7 separate regions of the Homo sapiens genome follow, and all the other regions are linked to region 7. The links are contacts of gene promoters, found by promoter capture Hi-C in human tissues and cell types (Jung and others, 2019). All regions are on one chromosome and are shown on one strand. The core of a region is centred on a gene start or on the middle of the fragment in contact, and the rest is flanking DNA. Distances in the headings are between cores, read along the strand shown.

Evidence for each region. The method cuts DNA at HindIII sites, captures the fragments that hold promoters and counts their contacts. A contact is called where the count stands out against the background at its distance.
Region 1: a contact is called between the fragment with the promoter of ZNF554 here and the fragment with the promoter of LINGO3 in region 7, in 4 of the 25 tissues and cell types used here (heart left ventricle, lymphoblastoid cells, mesendoderm cells and 1 more).
Region 2: a contact is called between a fragment that was not itself captured here and the fragment with the promoter of LINGO3 in region 7, in 9 of the 25 tissues and cell types used here (bladder, dorsolateral prefrontal cortex, heart left ventricle and 6 more).
Region 3: the fragment with the promoter of DIRAS1 here is called in contact with the fragment with the promoter of LINGO3 in region 7 in 3 of the 25 tissues and cell types used here (mesenchymal stem cells, spleen and stomach).
Region 4: the fragment with the promoter of ABHD17A here is called in contact with the fragment with the promoter of LINGO3 in region 7 in 4 of the 25 tissues and cell types used here (aorta, dorsolateral prefrontal cortex, heart left ventricle and 1 more).
Region 5: the fragment with the promoter of SLC39A3 here is called in contact with the fragment with the promoter of LINGO3 in region 7 in 7 of the 25 tissues and cell types used here (IMR-90 fibroblasts, adrenal gland, aorta and 4 more).
Region 6: the fragment with the promoter of ATP8B3 here is called in contact with the fragment with the promoter of LINGO3 in region 7 in 4 of the 25 tissues and cell types used here (heart right ventricle, pancreas, spleen and 1 more).

What each region holds. Positions count from the first base shown.
Region 1 is chr19:2,818,421-2,821,120 of GRCh38, forward strand. It overlaps ZNF554 (zinc finger protein 554), which reads left to right and starts at 1,448. Exons shown (of 5, transcript NM_001102651.2): 1 at 1,448-1,704. The coding sequence starts at 1,652. RefSeq lists a silencer at 1,487-1,926 and an enhancer at 1,859-2,552. The HindIII fragment of the contact is 22,652 bases long and covers 1-2,700 here.
Region 2 is chr19:2,756,127-2,758,826 of GRCh38, forward strand. It overlaps SGTA (small glutamine rich tetratricopeptide repeat co-chaperone alpha), which reads right to left. Exons shown (of 12, transcript NM_003021.4): 10 at 1,567-1,656; 11 at 1,211-1,331. The coding sequence ends at 1,217. Among named protein-coding and RNA genes, the nearest start is that of SLC39A3, 17 kb to the left of the region's middle. The HindIII fragment of the contact is 7,304 bases long and covers 1-2,700 here.
Region 3 is chr19:2,720,113-2,722,812 of GRCh38, forward strand. DIRAS1 (DIRAS family GTPase 1) reads right to left here and starts at 1,260. Exons shown (of 2, transcript NM_145173.4): 1 at 1,192-1,260. The HindIII fragment of the contact is 24,571 bases long and covers 1-2,700 here.
Region 4 is chr19:1,884,171-1,886,870 of GRCh38, forward strand. It overlaps ABHD17A (abhydrolase domain containing 17A, depalmitoylase), which reads right to left and starts at 1,326. Exons shown (of 5, transcript NM_001130111.2): 1 at 1,182-1,326. RefSeq lists a silencer at 591-738. The HindIII fragment of the contact is 23,112 bases long and covers 1-2,700 here.
Region 5 is chr19:2,738,574-2,741,273 of GRCh38, forward strand. SLC39A3 (solute carrier family 39 member 3) reads right to left here and starts at 1,444. Exons shown (of 3, transcript NM_144564.5): 1 at 1,372-1,444. RefSeq lists silencers at 540-807, 1,216-1,615 and enhancers at 926-975, 1,676-1,725. The HindIII fragment of the contact is 11,347 bases long and covers 1-2,700 here.
Region 6 is chr19:1,810,966-1,813,665 of GRCh38, forward strand. It overlaps ATP8B3 (ATPase phospholipid transporting 8B3), which reads right to left and starts at 1,311. Exons shown (of 29, transcript NM_138813.4): 1 at 1,221-1,311; 2 at 524-919. The coding sequence starts at 771. RefSeq lists enhancers at 819-1,564, 1,945-2,104 and a silencer at 1,025-1,394. The HindIII fragment of the contact is 30,703 bases long and covers 1-2,700 here.
Region 7 is chr19:2,306,904-2,309,603 of GRCh38, forward strand. LINGO3 (leucine rich repeat and Ig domain containing 3) reads right to left here and starts at 1,251. Exons shown (of 2, transcript NM_001101391.3): 1 at 1,173-1,251. The HindIII fragment of the contact is 18,961 bases long and covers 1-2,700 here.

The sequences.
Region 1 (2,700 bases), core at 198-2,697, 510 kb after region 7:
AACAGAGCAGGTGACCAAGGATAACTAAGGTCAGAGCAGGTGACAAGGATGACTAAGGTCAGAGCAGGTGACCAAGGATGACTAAGGTCAGAGCAGGTGACCAAGGATGACTAAGGTCAGAGCAGGTGACAAGGATGACTAAGGTCAGAGCAGGTGACCAAGGATGACTAAGGTCAGAGCAGGTGACCAAGGGTGACTAAGGTCAGAGCAGGTGATAGGGGCTAGGAGGGGTTGTTTACTGAAACTAGGGGCAAGGAAACGAAAAGAACGAGGAAGTTAAAGTTTAAAATGAAGAACAAAGAATAGGTGGCCGGGCGCGGTGGCTCACGCCTGTAATCCCAGCACTTTGGGAGGCTGAGGCAGGCGGATCACGAGGTCAGGAGATCGAGACCATCCTGGCTAACACGGTGAAACTCCGTCTCTACTAAAAATACAAAAAAATTAGCCGGGCGTGGTGGCGGGCGCCTGTGGTCCCAGCTGCTTGGGAGGCTGAGGCAGGAGAATGGCGTGAACCTGGGAGGCGGAGCTTGCAGTGAGCCGAGATCGCGCCGCTGCACTCCAGCCTGGGCGACAGAGCGAGACTCCATCTCAAAAAAAAAAAAAAAAAGAACAGGGGAGCTGAATATACGGAAACATTGGTTCTTTGGAGAGGAGCTCATAACTGATTGTACTTAACAATTTACAGGCTAAAACCTTTGAAGAGGAATTTGTTGTATCCTACAACAGTATATTAATTATAGTAGTTTTACTATTTTAATTTCTCATAAATAACAATCAGTAGAATATTAAATAAATATTTAAACAATAATTTAATTTGGCTGGGCGTGGTGGCTCACGCCTGTAATCCCAGCACTTTGGGAGGCCAAGGCGGGCAGATCACTGGAAGTCAGGAGTTCGAGACCAGCCTGGCCAACATGGTGAAACCGCGTCGCTACCAAAAATATAAAAAATTAGCCGAGTGTGGTTGTGCACGCCCGTAATCCCAGCTACTTGGGAGACTGAGGCAGGATAATCGCTTGAACCCGAGGGGGCGGAGGTTTCAGTGACCTGAGATCATGCCATTGCACTCCAGCCTGGGCGACAAGAGCGAAACTCAGTCTCAAAAACAAACAACAATTACTTAAGCAATCATTTTAATAAGTATGTAATACATTATACGTTTATATAACTTGCTTAATAAATAATAGTAGTTATTAATATCCAATGGCAAGCCGCCGGGAAACGACGGAGCTGGGATTTGAGGATTGGCTCCGCGAACCCCACAACACCCGGGGACTCCAGCGAACCACACGGGGTGGATCCAACAGCCGCAGGGGCATCGTGGTCCTGCGGAGACGCCGCCCGCCCGGAGGCGGCGCTGTGACCCAGGTTGGAGAGTCAGGAGCCCAGCGCCGCGCTGCGGGGCCTGCTGGGACTTGTAGTTCGCAGGTTCGGGGTGCGCAGGCGCAGTGCCGAGTTTACCTCTGCGCGCGTCGGGGTTGGTGGCGGCGGCTGCGGCGAGTTCCTGAGGGGCGCCTGCGGGGGGCGTCCGCTCCGAGCGCCGAGGAGCCGAGCGGAGGAGGCGTCCCAGGGACACGCAGGGGAGGCCGGCCGGCCTGCACGGGGCGCTCCCGCCTCGGGGGCCCTGTCTGGCGCCTCAGCGCGCGCCCCGATGGTCACCTGCGCCCACCTGGGCCGGCGCGCGCGGCTCCCGGCAGCTCAGCCGTAAGTGCCGCCGCCTCCCGCGCCGCGACCTCCGTGCCGGGCCTGCCGGGGCTCTGGTGGGGCTGGGTCTGGCGGGGCCGGGTGGCCGGGGCATGACCCTGTCGCGATAGGGTCCCCACGGGAGGGTCGGGAGCCGGCAGCTCGCCCAGGGCCCCAACGCCCAGGATGGCACGGTCTGCCCTTGCCCTGTGAAAACGCCCCTGGGTGAGAGACGCATAAGCTTTCCGAGGCCCAGCCTGCAAGGAGAGGGAGAAGACGCATTGACTCTACCCTAAAGGCAGAGAGGGGCTGCCACGCTCGCACTGCAGTGAGGCCACATCAGAGGGTCTGAGCGAGGGGCGGTCCTGCCCTCCAGGGGACACCGGGCGATGTCTGGGGACGTCTGTGGTTGTCATAACTGGGGGCAGTTCCTGGCATGGAGTAGGTGGAGGCCAGGGATGCAACTCAGCACCCTGCCCAGCCCAGAGAATGACCCAGGCTCCAGTGTCCACAGCGCCCTGAGGGAGAGACCTCACTTATACGTTAGCACCGCTGTCCTGGTGATAAGACAGCAAGGGTCCTTTTTTTTTTTTTTTTGAGACGGAGTCTGGAGTGCAATGGCATGATCTCGGCTCACTGCAACCTCCGCCTCCCGGGTTCAAGCCATTGTCCTGCCTCAGCCTCCCAAGTAGCTGGGATTACAGGCGTATGCCACCACGCCCGGCTAATTTTTGCATTTTTAGTAGAGACGGGGTTTCACCATGTTGGCCAGGCTGGTCTCGAACTCCCACCTCAGGTGATCCACCCGCCTCAGCCTCCCAAAGTGCTGGGATTACAGGCGTGAGCCACCGCGCAGCTGCAAGGGTCTATTCTGTTTATACCCACCACCCATGTTGAGGAATGAGGGAGGCAGCTGACCTTTCTGCTGCTCTAGCAACCCCAACCTCCCTGAACTCTCCCCTACCCAAACAGGTTGGTTTCTTTTTCTTCTTCTTTTTTTTTTCTTGAGACAGTCTC
Region 2 (2,700 bases), core at 50-2,549, 450 kb after region 7:
ACATCGCCATGACCTAGAAGGGTCTACAGTATGGTGGTACTTTGTGTATGAGGTTACGGTGGTAAAAAATCCACCTCAACTATTAAAAAAAGAAAAGGAAAAATAAATAAAAGCTTATTTAAAAAAAAAAGGGAAGACTGGAAGAAAAGGCGGCCAAAATATTAATGTTGGTGGCTCTGGGTGAGAAGATTAAGGTTGGGCTGAATGCACGGCTCACACTTTGGGAGGCCGAGGCGGGAGGATCGCTTGAGCCCAGGAGGTTGAGGCTGCAGTGAGACGTGACTGCACCACTGCCCTCCAGCCGGGGGGACAGAGCAGGACGGTCTCAAAAAAAAAAAAAAAAGATTAAGATTGTTCTTGCTGCTTTTTAACATTTTTGTATTTTAAATTTGTCTACAGTAATTATGGTTTAAAAATGAAAGAGAGTGTATATGAGGAGGGGACAACGACAAAATGAAGAGGCCACATGGGAGCAGAATGGAAACACCTCTGGGGAGGCCCGGAGCCTCCCGCCCCCAGGGAGCCGGCGTCTGCTGGAGACAGACAGGACTGAACTCAGGGGAGCCTCCCACCCCTGGGAAGCCGGTGTCTGCTGGAGACGGACAGGACTGAACTCAGGGGCCCCTGGGGAAGGAAACCAAGCCAGCCACGGGCCCCTGGAACCCATGGGGGACACTGAGTGTATTTTTAAACAACTGTAAGTGCAACACCTGCTCACAGTGAGAAAAGGACAAAAAATCCCTCACAAAATGCAGGCAGAACGCTCGGGCGCAGTCAAAGGCAGGTACCCGGCTTGTCCTTTCCACCACTCGATGACCTCGCCCCCACCCCCGAGGTGGCAGCCCCGACACTGCAGAAACAAAGAGCTTCTGCAGGCGGCCTTAGGCAGGGGGGACCCCAGACACCAGCCCTTCCAGGGAGCTGTGGCTCTCCCCTAATCTCCACCCAGCGCCGATCCACAGATGGGAAAGGAGTGGGGAGCAGGACTTGGTGGCCACCTGGAAAGGGGCCCAATGCCCAGAGATGCCCCCACCTGCCTGGGCGGTTCAGGGTGATCTTCTGAGCTGGATGCACCCAGGACTCGCTGTCCAGTGTCCAGACAGGCTCCACAGCCCCCGGGCGTCACTCCTGCTGGCTGCCCTCACTGCCAGGCACTCACGTGGTGTCACTCCTGCTGGCCACCCCCCAGCCCCCGGCCCCATGCACTCACGCAGCGTCACTCCTGCTGGTCGTCGTTGCTGGCGCTGGGCGTCCGACTCCGGATCTGGCTCCTGAGCTGCTCTATCAACTCTGGGTTCTGCTGCTGCATCTGCTGGGCAAACTGCTGGCCCCTGCGGGGAAGGGCACATGGGGCTCAGCCAGGGCCAGGAGGCTGCCTGCTGCCTCCGTCCATCCCCAGCTGACCCCTCGGGCCCTCCACCCCAAAGACAGGCCTGACCCCTCGCTGGAGGACGCTGGGCCCTTCGGAGCAGGGGACGCAGCACTTTCGCTCTCCTCCTTCCCTTCCGCCTGCGAGCCCTGCCCGCCGCCCACGTCCTCCGTCCTCTTGGAAGCAGTTCCACTCACGCCTGGATGAGGCTGGCCAGGTCGTTCTGCGAGGGGCTGGTGCCGGGAGTTCCCAAGGGGTTGTTGCCACCCGAAATCATGCCGGACATGCTGCAGGAGAGAGCGCGTGACTCGCAGCCGGGACAGCCTGACCGCCACCCCCACTGCAGGCCCTCGCAGTGGCCCGGGAGAGAATCCCTCTCAGCCCTTCACCTTCCCCTGCAGGAGAGGATTCTCTCTCACCACCTGGTGGGCCTCCAGGGCCCAAACCCACCCTGTGACTTTCACCTGCTTTCCCAGAACACCCCTCTTTCTTTGGCCTAAAGAGCGTAGTTCTCAGCCAGGGGGTGATCCTGCCCCCAGAGGACCCCTGCAATGGCAGCGGACATTTGCAACAGCCATGATTGGGTTACGCCAAGACAGGGGCAGGGGGTGCTCCTGGCATGGAGTGGATGGAGGCTAGAGACAGTGCTCAGCACCCTGCAGTGCCCAGGACGGCCCTGCTCCAGAAACTGGTCCAGCTCAAATGGCCACGGTGCTGTGGCTGGGAAACCATGCTTTAAGATTTGACCGTGGGCCAGCCGCGGTGGCTCACACCTGTCATCCCTGCACTTTGGGAGGCTGAGGCGGGTGGATCACCTGAGGTCAGGAGTTCAAGACCAGCCTGGCCAACATGGTGAAACCCCATCTCTACTAAAAATGCAAAAATCAGCCGGGCATGGTGGTGGATGCCTGTAATTCCAGCTACTTGGGAAGACCCACTTGATCCCGGGAGGCAGAGGTTGCAGTGAGCCAAGATTCTGCCACTGCACTCCAGCCTGGGTGACAGAGCAAGATTCTGTCTCAAAAAAAAAAAAAGGAGAAAGAAAAAAAGATTTCACCATGAAAACAGGTGAGCAGCTCCCCAGTGCGCACAGCGCTTACTGGGGAGTGACCCTATGAGCCAGCGAGTGCACTCAGAAGTTTATATCCAAGAGAAACGAAAACAGGATTCACACAGACGATTGCACACCCGTGCTCAAGCAGCACCGTTCACAACAGACAAAAGGTAGAAACAGCCCAAATGTCCATGGATAGATGTGTGGATCAGCACAGCGTGGTCCCTCCACACTGGAATATTACTCAGCCATGAAAAGGAGCGAGGCCCTGACCCAG
Region 3 (2,700 bases), core at 10-2,509, 410 kb after region 7:
TCGGAGGAGGCTGGGGGTGCTGGTGGTGGGGGGGAGGCGGCCTGTGCTGCAGACCCTGCCCTTTCCTGGGTGGGCGCCCTGAGAGGCGGGCACGCTGCTGTGCAGAAAGACGCCACCAAGACCGGCCTGGGGTCCTAATGGCCATGGGTTCTGTGGACCCAGATCCAGCCTTTGCCTTGCTGCGGGCACTGAAGCTCCAGCCCCCATGAGCAGTACTGTCCTCCCCGCTGGGTCTGGAATCCCTGACCAGAAAGGCGCTTGCACTCAACAGCCCCGAAGCCCACGCCACTTCCCACCTCCACCGCCTGGGGGGTGCGGGTGGAGGGAGGGGGTCGTGGGCACCGAGGCAGGAGCAGGAGGGGCTGGCTCAAGGTCACAGAGCAGGGGGGTGGAGGCGCACAGCGGGGCTGGAAGCCCACCCTGCTTGGCTAGACTCCTGGGGTTTCCCGCCTGTGCGGGGCAGCCCACCCCCAGACGTCCAGGCAGGGCCAATCTACCCCAGCCCTGGGTCCCTGAAGCCCGGCTCCCGGCCGGGCACGGCGTGGTTGGTGGGGGCGGGGGTGTCAAAGCAAAGCTCAGGGTCAGGAAAGCAGAGAGAGCCGCGACCCAGGGGTCTAGCGGGGGTCACGCCTGACCAAGGGTGGGGCGGGGGTCTGACCCAGGGCCGCCTGGCCGGTGAGGGGTTTGATGGAGAAAGGGCCTGCTCTAGGGGGCCCGAGGGCGCAGAGGCACAGTGCGGGGCCAGCCCAGGGGCGACCCTTGACTCAGGAGGACCTCAGTGGTGGAGAGGAGGAGCCCACCCCGGGGAGGGGGCGCGGAGGGAGGGGCTTGGCTGGGCAGCGGGGCGGAGGGCGAAGAAGGCGGCTGCAGGAGGGAGGAGGCCCTGCCCGAGGGGACCAATGCGGAGAGGGGCGGCGGGGTGGGCCTCGGTGGGGCGGGCTCGGCAGGGGGGCGCCCTCCGGGTGGGGGAGGGGAGGCGGCCGGGAGCTGTCCAAGGTGAGCGCGGAGGGGCCGGCCGGGCCCGGCGGGAAGGGACGGGGGACGCCCGGCGAGGGGCCCCGGAGCCACGCGGGGAAGGGCCCGGCCCCAAGGCCCGGGAGGCTGGGGCCGGGACAAAGGAGGGACGCGCGGCGGGGAGGACGGCCGGCTGGGGGCTGCGCAGGGACCCCCTCCCCGCCCCGGGCCGCCTACCTGGGCCCGCTGGTCCCTGCGGCGCCGCGGCCGCTGCTCCTGCCCGCTCCGGTGTCCGCTGGCGCCGCCGCCCCCCGCCCGCCCGAGCCGCCGCAGTCGCGCCCGCGCCGTCCCCGCCCGCCGGGCCCCGCGCTCCGCCCCGCCCCGCCCCGCCCCGCCCCGCCCCGGGGACCCGCGCCCACGGGGCCGGCGCGCCGCCCGGCCAAGGTCACCGCCGCCCCACGCGGGACCCCTGCCCGCGCCCGGGGTGGGAGAGGTCGCCAGGATCCGGGACCCCCGCCCTGCCACGTAGCCACCTGCGCGCGCCCTCCCTCGGGGTGGGAGCTGGGGCCGCTTCCCGGGGAACCCCGAGTGGGGGCCAGGAGCCCGGCTTGGGAGGAGCAGAGTCCAGCCGGGGGTGGAGGGCTTTGGCAGAAATGCGGATAAAGGGGGTGCAGAACGGGACCCCTGAGGCCGGCTGGGGCCCGGTCACACGCAGGGCGGGGAATCAGAGGGGTGCGTTGTGAAATGAGTAAGTCGATAATCAACAATCAATGAACAGGTTTAGAAGCGGGCAGAGGCGGGAGGGTTCAGGTCAATGGGGTGCACCTGGAGGCCCACCCATCCCAGGGGCCTGGGCAGGGGCGGGATGGGGGCAGAAGCGGACTCAGCGCTCTGTAGGGCTGGTTTTGTGGAGGCGGAGGCAGCCCATGGCAGTCAGGCCTAGGGAGGTGGGGGGTGAGCAAAGGGGGCTGGCGCTGCTCTGCAGCGGATGGGTTTGCCGTTTTCGGTTAGGAAAATGTTTGTGTTCCCCCAACAGGAGGTGTCTTAGGGGAGCACTGGCTTTTCTGATGCGTCTGTGTGTCCACAAGAGACCATGGTTCCGCCTCCATTTTGGAGACCGGGAGGCCGAGGTTCCTTTTGGCCTCATCGGGCAGATCCCAGAGGAGACTGGACTTTGGGGTCTAGTGACCAGGCCAGAAGGTGCTCTCAGGGGTGGGTGCGGGACAGTCCCAGGCCGCAAGGCTGTCAGAGGAAGGCGCCCCTTGGTGGAGAGGCCAACTCTGGGACCCACAGGGGTCTCTCCAGAGTCAGAGCCATCAGTGGGTGAGAGGCTGGTCTGGAAGGTGGTGAGCTCCCCATCACCAGGCCTGTGAGCAGGTGAACCCCTTGGGCCCTCAGCTCCTGGGGTTCTCCATGACCCACCATTTCCATGGCCCTGGATGAGGTGGGCCCATCTGCCTCTGCGGAGACTTGGCACTGCCTCCAAGACCACTCAGTCCCCTCTCCTGTTGCCACTGAGGCTGGGGCACTGAGGTTCAAGCGGCTTTGGGGCTCAAGGAGCTCTATTTCTCCCTGATTTGACCCCACTCCCCCTCCTGGCCTCCAGACCCCTTCCTCCAGCCCTCCTTCCACTCTGCCACTCAATGCTCCAACTGCAACATGGGCCTCCCCTGCTCTAACGCCACCCATGGCTCCCTTCTCCCAGGCCAAGGTCCAGCTTCTCAGCCTGGCATCCATGGCCCGGCC
Region 4 (2,700 bases), core at 76-2,575, 420 kb before region 7:
CCAAACCAGAAACTCTATGAGAGCAGGACCATGACCTGCCACTCACTAAAGGAATGGGCAGGTGGTAGGCAGCACAGAATTAAGGAGGAAGCACAGGAGGAAAAGAATCCCCAAGGTCCGCCAGCTTTGACAGGGAAGGGAAAGTCTAGTCTCCTCTCCTCTCCAGCCACAGGTACCTGGAACCTCCCTAGTGTCACTAATGGGCGTGGACTGGGGAGTGCAAACCCAGACGCCTCACTCACTGGGCACACACCCTTGACACCCTGAATCCCACCAATTCCGTTCCCACGCACTTAACTGGGCAACCCTCTGCAAGCTAGAGGTGTTCTGAGGACCAGCAAGCAACCGAGCAGCCAAAATACTGGAAGATGACCTACATATGGGAGACGGTGACTGCACCTCACTCAACCAGTCAGGGTGGGAAACCCGCCTGGGGGGAGGCGCGGCCATATCAGAGGGCAGACAAACGGGCCAGGTGACAGGGGGATGGGACAGAGGGACAAGCAGGAGCAAAATCCGAGGTGACAGAGCAGGCTCCTGGCTAGAGCAGACCCTGGGAGGAAGAAGTGAGCAGAAGGGTCCTAAGAGAGAGCCTGGGACGGGTGAGGTCGCGCCCCCGAGAGTTTGCACTTCATCCTGGGAGAAATGGCGGGGCCGCGAAGAAGTCCCGAGCAAGCGATGGACAACATAGGAGAAGGGCTGCATCCCGGAGAACGGACGCGAGCGGAGGCCGGGAAGCCCGCCCAGGAGTCAGGGTGGCAGGAAGAAGCCTGACAAGGGAAACAGCGACTGGGAGCTGGTTGGGAAGCAGGGCTCGGGAGGGCCCCTGGGAGCTGCCTTGGGGGGCGAGAGGCCGAAGCGTTTGTCGGACTGGGGGCAGTTTCGGGGCAAAAGAGCGGAATCCGCGGCTCGGACGGGTGCTCCCCGAAGGCAAGGGCCGCGTCCGCAGGAGGGTGGGAGCGCAACCCACGCCGGAGGGCTGAATGGATGGGGACAGGGCTTTCCCAATCACAGACGCTCATCCGCGGTCCGCGCCCCTGCTCTGGGCTCCTCGGGCAGGACCCGCGGAAGCCCTGGGACTGCAGGGGTCTCGGGGACGTCCAACCGGGCTGTCAGGCCCTCGAGGCCCGGCCCGGGACCCCGCGCGGCCGCGCCCGCCCCCGCCCCTGCCCGGCACTCACCACCCCGGCCCGCGCCCCCGGGCCCCAGGGCCGCGCTCCATGGCTCCCGGCCGCCCGCCCGTGCGTCCGTCGGTCCCTCCGCACCCCTGCCCGGCCTCCTGCACCGCCACCGCCGCAGCTCCCCCCACGGACGGAAGTGAGCCTCGTTCTCACCACCGCCCCGGAAGTGACGCGAGGAGCGCGCGGGGCGGGGGTCTGCAGGCACAGAGCGACCGCGCGACTAGCGTCCTGGGGGCGGGGCTGATATGTCGAGGGGCGTGGCCTGCTGCTCTGTGGGCGGGGCCAAACTTAGGTTTCATTCACTTGGGGACCCGGAATAGGTTGAGGCCAGTAAAGTTCTCGCCTGGAAAACAAAATTTACAGGGACGCCAAAAAAAACTCAGACATCAACATTTAGAAATGTTTTAAAATATTTTTCTTTATGAGATGGAGTCGCGCTCTGTCGCCCAGGCTGGAGTACAATGGCGCGATCTCAGCTCACTGCAACTTCTGCCTCCTGGGATCAAGCGATTCTCCTGCCTCAGCCTCCTGAGTAGCTGGGATTACCGGCGCCCACCACCATGCCCAGCTAATTTTTGTGTTTTCAGTAGAGACGGGGTTTCCCCATGTTGGCCAGTGTGGCCTCGAACTCCTGACCCCAGAATCCTCCTGCCTCAGCCTCCCAAAGTGTTGGGATTACAGGCATCAGCCACCGCACCTGGCCTCTTTTTTTTAACATAGAGTCTACTCTGTCACCCAGGCTGGTGCCATCATAGCTCACTGCAGCCTCGACCTCCCAGGATCAAGTGAACCTCCTACTTCAGCCTCCTGAGTAGCTAGGACTATAGGCACAAGCCACCATGACCAGCTTATTTAAAGTCTTTATATATTGCTCATCAGAAATTCTTTTGCATTAGTTTTTAAAATATTACATTAGGCCGGGCACGGTGGCTCATGCCTGTAATCCCAGCACTTTGGGAGACTGAAACAGGTAGATCACCTGAAGTCAGGAGTTTGAGACCAAGCCTGACCAACGTGGTGAAACCCTGTCTCTACTAAAAATACAAATATTAGCCGGGCATGGTGGCACGCGCCTGTAGTCCCAGCTACTCCGGAGGCTGAGGCAGGAGAATCGCTTGAACCCGGGAGGCGAAGGTTGCAGTGAGCCAAGATCGGGCCACTGTGCTCCAGCCCAAGTGACAGAGCAAGAAGACTGTCTCAGATAAATAAATAAATAAATAAATAAATAAATAAATAAATAAATAAAACTATGATCACTCCACTGCATTCCAGCCTGGGCGAGAGAGCAAGATCCTGTCTCTTAAAAAAATTTCATTATGGGCTGGGCGCGGTGGCTCACGCCTATAATCCCAGCACTTTGGGAGGCCGAGTCGGGCAGATCATGAGGTTAGGAGATCAAGACCATCCTGGCTAACACGGTGAAACCTCATCTCTACTAAAAATACAAAAAGATAGCCGGGCGTGGTGGCGGGCGCCTGTAGTCCCAGCTACTCGGGAGGCTGAGGCAGGAGAACGGCGT
Region 5 (2,700 bases), core at 194-2,693, 430 kb after region 7:
TCCTTCTTCTTTCTTGCTTCTCTGCATCCAGGACCCCTCAAAAGGGCCTCCCTCGGTTGGGAGTGGTGGCTCACACCTGTAATCTCAGCACTTTGGGAGGCTGAGGTGGGCAGATCACCTGAGGTCGAGAGTTCGAGACCAGCACCTGAGGTCGAGAGTTCAAGACCAGCCTGGCCAACACAGTGAAACACTGTCTCTACTAAAAATACAAAAATTAGCTGGGTGTGGTAGTGGGCACCTGTAATCCCAGCTACTTGGGAGGCTGAGGCAGGAGAATCACTTGAACCCAGGAGGTGGAGGTTGCAGTGAGCCAAGATCAAGCCATTGCACTCCAGCCTGGGTGACAGAGTAAGACTCTGTCTCAAAAAAAAAAAAAATTAGCTGGGCATGGTGGTACGTGCCTGTAATCCCAGTTACTCGGGAGGCTGAGGCAGGAGAATTGCTTCAACCCAGGAGGTGGAGCTTGCAGTGAGCCGAGATCGCGCCATTGTACTCCAGCCTGGGCTGCAGAGCAAGACTCCGTCTCAAAAAAAAAAAAAAAAAAAAAAAAAGGGCCTCCCTCTCTGCCCCTGGCTGACTCCTGCCCTAAACCATATCCCTGTACCCGCCGGAAGGCCTGCTGCAGAACAGATACTCAAAAACCGCTGGCTGAACACATGGACGAGGGGAAGCGTGTGGCCACTGATAAGGGCCGCATTTTACCTGATGCAATGGGCCAAAGTGAAGTCGGTTTCACCCTGGACCCCAAAATGTCACCGTTCTTAGGAGGAATCTCAGCTCCTCCCCTGTCCTTGAGTTTTCCCCAACTGGGTTTTCTCCCCCACCATCAGCCCCAAGCGCCTCATGGCCCCGCTACCTCACTGCATTCAGGTCTTCGGGTCACTGCTCAGATGTCTCCACTCAGAGCTCTCCCCGCCCCCTTCCCTGGTGTTATTTTCTTTTATTTTGTGCTACAGAGGGAGCTAGGAATTACATTATTTTAAGTCATTTAAAGTCGTCCCTCCCCCCCGGCGGTGAGCTGGGCGGGACCAGGCTGTCTGTCTTGCTCAGGGCCAGCTGCACCCAGCGCAGAGCCACCCAGGCACACAGTAGGCGCCCAATAAAGACCTGTCCGGCATCTGGATACCTCAGTCTGTACAGTGAAGGTGAGGGTGGCCTGCACGCTCTCAAACCGGAGGCTGCTCGGGCCGGGATGAGGAGGGCACGGGCTCATTCATTCAATCAGCACTTATTGAGCGCCTTCTGTGTGCCTCGCGCTACCGGGCACCGGAGACGGGCCTCGGCTAACGTGCGGGTAGAGTCCAACAGACCCCCGGCCGCTCAGCGCCGCCCCGCCCCGCCGCCCCAGGTCCTCTCTCTGCCCGCACCTACCTCCCGGGGGCCCCTCGTCCGCCGACTGGCGCCGCTGCACGCCCAACGGCCGCGCAGTCTCGACCCCACAGACGCGGCCCGGAGAGGCCCCGCTCGGCGCGGCTGGTCCACGCCCCGCCCACGCCCCTGCCCATTGGCCTCCCCGAGACCCGCTGGCAGAACTTTCCATACTATTGGCTGCGAAACCTGCCACTCATATGCGACTCCACCTCTCCTACCGGCACAGGAAAGGGGTTTCCTCCCGCTGAGCGGCGGGCGCAGCCACCAAGCGGCCCCGGCGGGAAACCCGGATTGGCGAGGAACGGTTCCGGCAGGGTTGGGTTTCCAGAGCTGTCCAGGGGCGCCTGGTGCTGAATCCCGCTTGGAAAGAGGCTTGGAGGTGGATGGGAAGGGATTTCCAACGGAGGCGGCTCCTCTCTCAGCGTCCTCGCTGCTGATCCCCTTACCGACGGCTGAAGAAGCAGATTCATCCCTTCAACAAATCTCTGTTGATAGGCAGGAGGAGTAAGTCCAAGAGATCGACTGTACATCATGGTGGCTACAGCTCGTAACAATGCATTGCATACTGCAAAATTGCTAAGAAAGTAGATGTTACATGTTCAAACCATGAAAAAATAAGTATAGGAGGTAACGCGTAAGTTAAAAACCAAATCTTGGCAGGGCGCAGTGGCTCACACTTGTAATCTCAGCACTTTAAGAGACCGAGGCGGGAGGATCGCTTGAGTCCAGGAGTTCAAGGCCAGCCTGGGCAGCATAGTGAGACCCCATCTCTAAAAAAAAAAAAAAGGTTTTTTTTGAGACAGAGTCTCGCTCTTGTCACTCAGGCTGGAGTGCAATGGCGCGATCTTGGCTCACTGCAACTTCCGACTCCCGTGTTCAAGCGATTCTCCTGCCTCAGCCTCCCGAGTAGCTGGGATTATAGGCGTGTGCCACTATGCCGGCTAATTTTTGTGTTTTTAGTAGAGACGGGGTTTCACCATGTTGGCCAGGCTGGTCTTGAACTCCTGACCTCAGGTGATCCTCTTACCTTGGCCTCCCAAAGTGCTGGGATTACAGGCATGAGCCACTGCGCTTGGCCTGATGACTTGATTCTAACAAATAGAAAATGGCAAATGAATGGGATGTCATTCTGCGATTAGGCTATGAGAGATTGTGACTTCTGTTTTGCCAGCAGAGCCTGTCTCTCGCCTTCTCAGCCTACGTGTCTTGACAAAGCAAGCTAAGATGCTGGAGAGATCCAGAGGGAAAGGAACTGAGGGTGTCCTCCAGCCAACAGTCAGCAAGGCAATGAGACCCTCAGCACAAGCGTCCATAAGGAACCAAATGCTA
Region 6 (2,700 bases), core at 61-2,560, 500 kb before region 7:
CTAGAAGGACTCTACCGCCAGCCATGCCAGCCTCTGGCCATGCCAGCCTCCGGCCACTGCTCCCCACACCTCGCTTTTCCTGAAAGGACCACTCTCACCTCCTCCTGGTTTCACTGACGGCCTCCTGCCCCTCTCCCCATGTGGCACCAGCTTAGGGGCTCAGTCATCTGTTCACTGACTGAATGGGACCCCCGGGCTATATGTTATATCTCAAAACACAGCATGAGGGTCAGGCATGGCCACTCCCCTCCTCACCCCCCCAGGCTGGGCAGCAAACTCTGATGGGGGCGATGGAGGCAGACGGACATCGTCAGAAGATCCTGGAATCTTCTCCACTAGCAGGTTCAGGAATGTGGGTCTGGCTCTAGCCCTGCACCGGGGGCCCTGGTTTGGCCCCCTATGAGGATGGGCAAACCACCCCTAGACGCCAGCAACTGGCCCCCCACCTGCCAGCTCTCTAGCAGTGCCCTCCCCGCCAAGCCCCTGCCCCTGTGTTCCGGCCACCCGATGCACCCGTCCTCACCCTTCTGGTCTCCATTCATACTTCCTAGCCCGGCCAGGCTGGGCCTTGTGCCTCCTCTCAGGTGCCCCTCTGCCTGGGGAGTCTCCCATCCCAGCTCTGATCACCGTCTCACCTCCGCGGATGCCAGCAGGACCTGAGCCTTCCTGAGTCACGTCTGAGTCACCCGTGTCCCCAGGTCCTGGTGGGGCAGGGCTTGGCTCAGGGCCAGCTCTGGTGCTCCTGGGAGTCTGAGCGGGGCCAGTGCCCATTCACCGCATGAGGAAAAGGGAGGTTCAGGGCGAAGAGGGGTTTAGGCTGTGGGACGGGGGAGAGGTGGGGGAGACCCCCGTGGGGGCAGACTGGGGATTGGAGAGTTGGAGAGAATGCTCAAATGGCCAGAATCCACTCGAAGTGTATCTGGGGGCAGAAAGAGACACGGACACAGCGCTGGCTTCCTGCCCCCTCACTAACTGGGATGCCCCATTACTCGGAAGCCCCCCACCCCGTCTTCCCGCAGCCGCAGGGGCACAGGACCGCCCTGGACAGGGCTCCAGAGTCCAGGGCTGTCTGCACCCGCCCCGGGGCCCCGACCGCGCGAACCTCTAGGGGCGCGCTCTCCACCCCCGCCGCCACGACCCCAGCTCTCAGCCTGGGTGGAGCCCAGAGAGGGTGCGCGGGCTCCCGGGGACGCACAGCAGTGGGAGCACCCGCCGCTCACCGGCGCAGGAGAGGCAGGGGGGGGCAGGCCGCGGGCGTCCAGGGCGGCGGACGTGGTGGAACCGTTAGCCCGGTGCCAACGGTCCTGAAACGGGGGGCGGGATCTCGGGGCGGGGCCTCGGGGCCCGGCCAAGGCGAAGGTGGAGCCAGTTCGGACCCCGGAAGGGGGCCGGGGGCGGGGCCTGGAGGGGGTGGGTGGGGCCAAGGCGAAGAAGGGGCGGGGCCTCGAGGGTGGGGCCGAGCGGAGCACGGCCGAGCAGGATGGGGGCCAGGCCTCAGGGACGCGGTCACGGCCGAAGGGCGGGGCCTCGCAGAGCCTCGCAGAACAGGCCGGGATAGAAGACGCTCGGGAGCAGTGCCTGGGTCTGGGGAGGGGCCGGGACTTTGGGGAAGGGACTAGAAGGAAGGCGAGGACGAGCGGGGTCTCGCTGAGCAAAGTCAGAGTAGGGGCGGGGCCAGGACTCAGGGGCTTGGCCAGAGCGGGAAGCGGGGTTGAGCATGGCCTTGCGGAGCAGTGTTATGGTAGGGGCGGGGCTGGGATCCGGAGCCGTTACAAAGGAGGAAGGCGGGGCCGCGCAGAGCAGGGTCAGGGTAGGAGGGCGCTCAGGGTGGGTCCAGGACAGAAGGCAGGGCCTTGGGAGGGCCTTAGGGAGCAGTGCCAGTGCAGGGGCGGAGCCTGAAAGGGAAGAGGGTGTCAGGGCAGGGCCGGGCCGGGCTTGGTCAGGGAGCAGAAAGAACCTGCACCGCAGGGCGGGGTTGGAAGGGTTCTTGGAAAGGTGGGCCTGGGTCAGGTCGGAATGGGCCTTGCAGACCTGACGGGGCTGAGGCTGGTGCGGCCAGCGTGGCAGAGTGCAGGAGGAAGGACCACAGGTAACGGCGGTTATGTAAGTCATGTCTGATCCGTGTCCTGGGTTCGTTCATTCATCCCATACACGTTCAACGAGCGCCTCCTAGGCGCAGATGCAGGGCTGAGCACCAGGCTGGGGAGAGGCGGTTATAGCCATTGAGACCACCCTAAGGCCAAGAGGAAGCCCGCAGGGTTCTTTCCAGCAGGTGGCAGGGGCTCAGGGATCCTTACTGAAGAAGTGGCAGGGGTGAGTTCAGCGACGAGGCTAGGGCGGGTCCAGGCCAGCGATAGGGCCTGGAGCCAGGGTCAGAAAGTGTGTGCGGAGGGGCTGCTGAAGATGAAATGCCCCCAAGAGTGAGGCTACCTGGGGTGAGGGCCCAAAGGGAGAGGCAAACATGGGTGGAGGGGGATAGGGAAGCCACCTCCCCCATCAAAGCGGCAACCACCTGAGGGCTCTCGGTGATCACAAACCCTCTTTCTTTGGAAGCCCAAATTGGAAGCCTGCTTGGCCCTGGAGGCTGCCAGGGAACCTCTCTTTTTTTGGAGACAGAGTCTCACTGTGTCACCCGGGCTGGAGTGCAGTGGTGCGATCAGAGCTCACTGCAGCCTCCACCTCCTGGGCTCAAGCGATCCT
Region 7 (2,700 bases), core at 1-2,500:
GTAAGGCCATGCCGCGGCAGCCCACCCCACACCAGCCTCCTGATAAAGCCAGCACCACCCTCCCTGAACCTGTTTCCAGCCTGCGTCCTCCACCTGACCACTCACACCTCACACCTTCTGCATCCTCTCCAGGCCACTTCCAGGGAGCCCTCCTGGGTTGCTCTGGTTCTCACAGCTCTGTTGTCCCTGAAGGCTCCCCCCAGCCAAGCCCCAGATCGTCCCTCTGCAAATACCACTGCACAGCAGACGCCCGCTCCCCACCCCCGCCGGAGCAAGGGTGTCTGCAGCCTCGCTGCGTCCATGGTTTAGCCAGGGACCGCTTGCTAAAATGCAGCTTCTGGGGCACATCGCCTCAGAAGTTCTGACTCCTCAGAACTGGGGGGGCCGGGACACCGGCACCGTTAGCGCCCCAAGCACACGTTGAGAAACCCAGTTACATGGTGGTCTCCAGCGTAAGGACCCGGGGCTTTTCTTGTGCCCGGACCAAGGCACGAGGTGCTGCTCCCCTAAACTTGTTGAATGGGACTCAGGGCCTCCCCTGGCCAGGCCCCAGAGGCCCGGGAGGTGGCGGCACCCACTCAGGGTGCCCAGGCCCACCATTTCTGGTGCTATTCAGACGCCCCCAGAGCAGGGGGACTCAGCCCTATGCCCCCAGGTCCCTCCCCGCCAGGCCGGGCCGTCAGCTCCAGCGATGGAGCAGGCTCCGGTGTGGACCCCAGATACCCTTTGCGTCTTCCAGCTCCGCACCCCCAGGCTGGACCAGACCCGGCTCGGGGGAGACAGGGCAGGAAGGCGCGGGCTGCAGGCTCTATTCGGACGTTCCCCACACCCCAGACCCAACCAGTGCCCCCTTCATCTCCTCCTGGAGAGGAGCGCATCCTCCCAGCGTCCCCAGTGCCCCGGGGAGATGCCCACCCGATTCCCCGCTCCTTGGCGCCCCAGAGGAGGGGCGGGGGGCCCCAGGGTGGGGAGTTCGCCCCCAAAGTTTCCAGGGGGAGCGTCGGGGGCCTGGCAAGGAGCGATGAGCCCGGGAGGGGTGCGCGGGGCAATTTCCCCCGGCTGAGGATGGGGTCGCGGGTTGGGGGCTTTGGGCGGCAGGGTCGCAGGGTGCAGGTGAGGGGTCCCCAGGTCTGCGGGCGCGCCCCACGCCGGGCCCCGGCACGGCCACTCACCTGGGCGGCTCCGCCGCGGACACGGCGCGGGCTGCGGCGCGGGGGCCGCCCGGAGCCGACACGAGCAGCCGCCGCCGCCGCCGCCGCCGCCGCCGCCGCCTCCCGGGCTCCGCCGTGCGCGCCGCCGCCGCGCGCAACCGCCCGCCGGTCTCCTCGGCGCGCCTGGCGGGGGCGCGCGGGGGCTGCGCTGGGCCGCGTGCGCGGCGGCTGGGGCCGCAGGTGTGAGAGGCCACGTGGGCGCAGGTGCGGGGACACTGGGAGCGCGGGTGCAGAACCCCTCCGTGCGCATCCCGGGCGCTTCGTGTCCGAGGACCTCCTGTCCCCACGGCCTGGGTGAGCCTGCGGAGACGGCCGTGCCGTGCAATAAACGCAGGGGCACCCCAAGTGCAGCAGGTTGTTCCGTGTGGAACCTTCTGGAAGCTACCATCGCCTCCTCTGCCCCCCGTCCCCCACCCCTAGTCCAGGCCGCCACCATCTGCACCTGGACATCTGCCACAGCCCAGCCCAGGCCCATTCCTTATGTGGCCCTCAGAGGAAGCCCCTCAGAGGAAGCTTAGCCACTGGGCTCCAGAACCTGCCGTGATTCCCTATTGCCGTGAGGGTCCCGTCTGCACCCCACCTACCCTGGAATTTCTCTTTCTTTCGTTCTTTCTTTCTTTCTTTCTTTCTTTTTTTTTTTGAGATGGAGTCTTGCTCTGTTGCCCAGGCTGGAGTACAGCGGTGCCATCTTGGCTCACTGCAACCTCCGCCTCCTGGGTTCAAGCGATTCTCCTGCCTCAGCCTCCCAAGTAGCTGGGATTACAGGCACCCGCCACCACGCCCGGCTAATTTTTGTATTTTTATTAGAGACGGATTTTCAGCATGTTGGCCAGGCTGGTCTCAAACCCCTGACCTCGGGTGATCCACCCACCTCGGCCTCCCAAAGTGCTGGGATGACAGGTGTGAGCCACCGCCCGGCTGCCTGCACTGTTTGGTCTGCCGCACCACCTCCTTCCCCCTGGCCTGTCCTCACTCACTCTTTCCCGGGCTCCACCCCCTCAGCCTTCCTCAAACAGGCCAAGTCCCTCCAGTCCCAGGCCTTTGATCTTCGCTGTGCCCAGCTTGGACAGCCTTTCTCTCTGTCCCTCCATCGAGCAGCTTGGAGCCTCTCAGTTTGTCTAATGGGCTTGTTCCCCAATGTGCCTTCCGCCTAGCACACAGCAGCGCACACACCAAGTGCACTGCGAGTGCTCATGGAAAGTTTTTTACCTTTTTTTTTGTCTTTTTTTTTTTTTTTTTTTTTTGAAATGGAGTTTTGCTCTCGTCACCCATTCTGGAGTGCAGTGGTGCAATCTTGGCTCACTGCAACTTCCACCTCCCGGGTTCAGGCGATTCTCCTGTCTCAGTCTCCCAAGTAGCTGGGATTACAGGCGCCCATGACCATGCCTGGCTAATTTTTGTATTTTTAGGGGAGATAGAGTTTCACCATGTTGGCCAGGCTGGTCTCGAACTCCTGACCTCAGGTGATCCACCCGCCTCGGCCTCCCAA